2 separate regions of the Homo sapiens genome follow, and region 1 is linked to region 2. Evidence: promoter capture Hi-C in 16 types of primary human blood cells and fetal thymus (Javierre and others, 2016). All regions are on one chromosome and are shown on one strand. The core of a region is centred on a gene start or on the middle of the fragment in contact, and the rest is flanking DNA. Distances in the headings are between cores, read along the strand shown. Region 1 has its middle 79 kb from the start of LINC00374. Region 2 holds the start of PCDH17 (protocadherin 17).

Evidence for each region. The method cuts DNA at HindIII sites, captures the fragments that hold promoters and counts their contacts. A CHiCAGO score of 5 or more calls a contact.
Region 1: a contact is called between a fragment that was not itself captured here and the fragment with the promoter of PCDH17 in region 2, in 1 of 17 cell types (M2 macrophages). The highest score is 6.0, in M2 macrophages.

What each region holds. Positions count from the first base shown.
Region 1 is chr13:58,310,609-58,313,308 of GRCh38, reverse strand. No RefSeq gene overlaps it. Among named protein-coding and RNA genes, the nearest start is that of LINC00374, 79 kb to the right of the region's middle. The HindIII fragment of the contact is 977 bases long and covers 927-1,903 here.
Region 2 is chr13:57,630,489-57,633,188 of GRCh38, reverse strand. It overlaps PCDH17 (protocadherin 17), which reads right to left and starts at 1,445. Exons shown (of 4, transcript NM_001040429.3): 1 at 1-1,445. The coding sequence starts at 642. RefSeq lists an enhancer at 259-938. The HindIII fragment of the contact is 2,681 bases long and covers 1,252-2,700 here.

The DNA of each region.
Region 1 (2,700 bases), core at 166-2,665, 680 kb before region 2:
TATAGTCAATATTTTTGTCATTACATAAAAATGTTTTTAAAACAAATGTTTCTAGCTGCTTAGTTTTAGGAGTAATTTGGCACGCAGCAATCCCTAACTAATATAGTCAACATTTTATTTAGTAGCAGGATGTATGTAAAAATTATAAAATGGGGTTATGAGTACCTTAAAATTAATATACCTTTCCACTGCTTTAGTAGACAGATAATACATACAATGAGAATCACACCTTACTCCGTGCTGAGTTTTGAGTGACACACTGATAAAGGAAAAGGGTGATGTGGACTAAGTGCAACTAAGTGTTACTAGGAAGAGTTTGGGAAGTTTAGCCTTGTGAGGAAAATGTGGTTAGGCACAGTGGAACAATGAACATTGTTCATTGTTTTATATACATGAAATATCAACATATGAAAAAGCAAAAATATTTTTATTGGTCAACATGGAATATATGCCTTAATTTTTGCTCAAAATAAGGATTTTTTATTCCAGCTTACAGAGAATGGGCTGCTTGAGCAGTAATTTTTCTATCGTTAGAGATATTCAAATATATGCTGAGTCTGTGTTATTGAGAAATTTAGAGGATACAATTTTTAAAGACACTTTCAGGGCTGAAATTCTATGAAATAATTATATGCTTGTGGATTATTTTACCTTGGCTATATGGTGGTAATATTTAAGGAGGGTAAAAAAATACATATGCCAAATTTGTCCTCAGACCAACTGAATCAGACTATATGGTGACAGGGCCTGGTCATCAGTCCTTTTTTAAGCTCTCCTTTTGACTCTGAAGTGCAGTCAGTGTAAAATGATATTGATATATTCATTTTTTGGATTTTAACTTATAAAAGTAATATTTTATACAAGTCATCTTGTATATGATAGACTTTCACTATGAAATGTTATTACATATTTAGAAAACAAAAGCTTATCAAAAGTAACTAATTTGACTATTTAAATGCCTAGTATATTTTTGTAGTCATCAAATTCATTAAAAATGGCATTAAAAATGGCATTCATTAAAAAATGTGAAACAATAATTTTCAATAGTTTGTTTGTTAGCTAGTCCGAAAATAAATTTAGGAATTAAGCCAGGATAGCAACAGTAATTAAAAATTACAGCAAATATTTACTGAACAGTTACTGTGTGATCAACACTATACTGAGGATTAACAAACAATTACTTATCTAAGTTGTATAATAGTCATGAATTAGATACTGTTATTATATTCATCATTGTTATATTTAATTCATATCAACTAATGACTAATGACATATATTAATATATCATTAAATTAATTACATTTGTTTTGCCCATATTCATTATATTATATTCATTCATTCAATTACTAAATTAAATTTATATATGCACACATATACACAAAAAACTGTACAGTATTAAAAATGTGTTCAAGGTTGTTCAAAGTGTAATTTTTGGAGCAACTACTTGGACCTAGGCATTCCAGGCCCCAGAATGCTCACTCTTGACCATTATATTAAAGTTATTCATGCGGAACATAGCAATATCATTTAGCATAAAGGTTTCCTGTCTTTTTTTTTTATCCCATCTGCCAAAGACAAATCTGCATTTGTCCGATAACTTCCTCTGAATTTTTACTTTTTGAAAAAGAAGGAGTATTGCTTCCTAAGAGAGCAGCTGCTGTCAATTTGAGGAATAAAAAAGATGTAAGTAAGATAAGAGAGAAAACAAAAGAGGACAGGAGTCCATGTCTGGACAGTGATGACTCCAGGGTAGCCTTGAGGTGTAAACAAATTTTAGGAGAAAGGGAAGAGGTGTTACAAAATGTTTCAGGTTATAAATGGGGCCTCTATGATGGAAAGGGTTCAAATATGCTGTGCATCTGAATGATTTTATACTCCTCTCTCTTTCTCTTGACTATAAGCTTCTTGGCAATGTCTTTTTCATCTTTGCTTCTGCCAAAGACTCAGAGAATGCATATAACTTTCGTGACAGCTCAGGTTGTCAATATATTTAGAACAATATAGTGACCACTGTATCACTGATTCATTAAAAGGATTTGAGGCTATCACCTATGCATAATGGGCAGTAAAAGTAAAGAAAATCATATGCAGTTAAGCTAGAAGAAATACAGAATGAAATATTTTCTTTTAGCATATCATTATCATATTAATGCTATTTTCAATAGCAGTTAAGTCCCCAATTCCAAAGTGTGAAAATTCAATTTTTAATGCATTGCACTTGAGTATAAAACTAATTTTTAGTTTTGGCCTTTTCTTATATGAATTAAAAGAAGTAAAAAAACCTCTAAACCCAATTTTAAAAATTAAGATTGAGGTCATTTTAAAAAGTAGTTCATTATTCATTAACTTGTGAACACAGCACTGGTATTGTTATATGATTACGGTACACTTATATAGCATTTTTTATTAGCAGACTAAATTAACATGTATTTTACAAGTATTTATTAGCTATTCTGATAATTGGATGAGTCATTTTAAGTTGCAAAGAATAAACCAAAGCCATTATTGCTATTGTTTCATTGGATGGTAGTGCTATTATTACTATCATGAATAATAATGATTCATAGAGCATTGCACATGTTTCCATCTCAAAATGAGAGCTTTTAACCGTGTGTGATCATCAAGATATAGTCTATGCCTCTTTGTAAACAGCTTTAGAAATAGCTGTGTCTGAAAGATTCATTTGTGGTTTATGTGATT
Region 2 (2,700 bases), core at 196-2,695:
AGTCAGCACGAGCGTATGGTGATTCTGTTGCTCGCGGTCCAGAGCCTTCTGGATGACCAGTTCTGGGAACTTGGTGCCGTCGCCGCGGGACTTAACGTCCAGTCCAAAGAGGCCGTGATCGTCGCGCGTGAGCAGGTAGGTGCGGAGCCCATTCTCGCCGGCGTCGGGGTCATGTGCGCTGGTGAGGGGGAAGCGGGTGCCCGGAGCAGCGTTCTCCGAGATGTCCATTTCGATCTGGTCCGAGGAGAAGGAGGGCGCGTTGTCGTTGATGTCCTGGATCTCTACCTTGATCATGCAGATCTCCTTGTCGTTGGCGAACACCTCGAGGGACAGCTGGCACTTGGCATTGTGGCGGCACAGGGACTCGCGGTCGATGCGCTGCTTGGTGTAGAGGAGCCCGCTGTCTGCGTCCACGTCCAGCAGGTGCGGTGCGGAGTTCTCCAGCACCCGGTAGCTACCCGACTTGCTGCGCCCTCCGCCGCCGCGCTCTGCAGGCGGAAGCCCAGGCTGCAGTCGAGCATCCCTGCCGATGTTCCCGATCACCGTGCCGGCCCCTTGCTCCTCCGGCACGGAGTAGTTGAGGTTCTTGAGAGTGAGGGCAGGGGCCCATAGAAGAAAGCAGCAACAGATGGAAAGGTACATCCCAGACCTGTAAGGTGGGGGCAGGAGCAATCGGACTGGAGGAGCCAGAGAGGGAGTGCGCGCCAGCCTGGGGCCCTGGCGCAGCGTGCGCGCGCGACGCGAGCCACAAGTCTATGGGTCCTTTTTTCCCTCTGCACCCGAGCTGCGGCACCCGGTGGTCTCTCCTTATTCTGCTCAAGTTCCCTGAACCTGTTGATCTACAGCATCCGCACTGGGTGAGAAGCTGCGGTGCAGCAGAGCTGCAGGGGCTTGGAGCAAGGCGGTGGCTTCCTGCGGCTGGGGGTGAGCCAGGGGTTTCGTCTCTCCCGCCCGGACTTCGGGAGGCTCAAACTTGAGCGATGAGGCAGGCGATAAGAAGGAAATCTCGTCTGGGAGAGATGATAATGAGCTAAAGAATCAGTAGGTTTTCCTCGCTCCCGCTAGGGTGCTGCAAATCTACTCCCGCCCGGAGACTCCGGAATACTCTTCACATCGAGTGGGGGAGGGAGCAGGGAGGTGTGTCTCTAGGCAGATCCGAAAGTGAAATTCTTACTTGCTGCTCGCCTCCCGTGATGAAATTGATGGGGATGAAGAGCAACGAAGACAGAGTCACAGATATATTTTGAAGCTTCCCCAGCGCACCGTGAAATGTCTGCTTGCTGCGCGGGCCGGTCTGTTTTCAGGCAGTGTTTTGCTGCATTTAGAGATCTAATCTTGCATTGCTGGCTGAGGCAGCGGCGGCGGCGGACTGCATCTACCAGCCAAGCGTATTTTTTTTTTCCTCTCTCTCCTTTCCGAGCAGCCAAAGGGAGGGGAGGAAATGCAGCGTAAAGAACTAGTGTCCCGATTTGTAGTTTCCTCTCCCCACCAGGCTCCTCCCTCTCTTCCTCGGAAAAGGCTCTCCCCCGAAATCAAGAAAGCCACAGCCTGATCAGCATTTGCTGTGTGAGTCTATTGGGAGGGGGGAAGTAGAGAGATAAATCTTCGCCTCTGTTCGTAGAACACACTCTCTGATTTCTCTACGCCAAGCCAGTAGCCTCCGCTACCATCCCATCCTCTCCCCGCGAGCAAGGACTTCTCTCCAAGCAGTTTAATTCCAGTTTGCTTTTCTTCCCAGGCGAAGGGAAATCAACAGGCAACTCATGGTTGGACGTGCACATTTAAAGGAGGAGGGGGGAGGCCGAATAAAAAGGAAGGGGGAGCCTCCCTCCCAGTCCTTGCACACACACTCTCCCTGTCTCTCGCTAGAAGGGAAACAGTCTCTGCATTCACAGGGCTGGGCTGTCAAGTGCCTCTTTTCTTTCTATTCAGCATCTCCTTCCAATAGCCCTGCCTCCCAGTCCTCTTCATCTAGAAAAGAAAACCTTGGCGAGGAATAAAAGTGATGAATATTTGAAGCAAATAAAGTACGTGTTTTTTTTTTTCCTTCAATTTTCTCTTATAGTAGGAGGAGTGGGCTGGATGAAAGCAACACATCAAGGTTTGGCGTGATGCATTCTGCAGTCTCTCTTTCAGTTTTTCTGGGCGACTCAGGGAGGGCAGGGGGTGCAGAGCTGCGGCCGCGGCGGTCCAGCCAGGGGCTCCTACCCCGGGGAGCTCCCTCCGAGGGGATGTTAGACACAGGTCTGTCTACACATTATTTCGGGTTCTGGAGGCGCCTCGACATACGGGAATGACACATCCAGAAATGCAGGTGTTCCGATCTGCCGGATGAGTCAGAAGCAGCGGAACGAATCGTATTCACTCTCGCCTCATGGTCCTCCCTTCACAGACATTAGTTGCGGCTTCTTCCTAACGCTTTCTCTGACTCAGTCTATAGAAAGAAAAACCAGATTCATGTTTTTGGGGAAAAAGAAAATGCAAGAGAAAAGGATGGAGGGAAGAAGGTGAAGCTGAATCTAGCAGCACTTTTACTCTACCTCTTTCTGCCGGAGTCCGAGGTTCTGGAAAACAAGGCGTCTGCTTTGCTAGGTGTATTGGTTTATTTATTTTGTTTATTTTTTTTAAACCTTTCCTCTTGGTTAGGCGAGAGGTACCCCGAAATTTTTCAGAGTCTTGGAAAAGGAAAAACAAAATCAG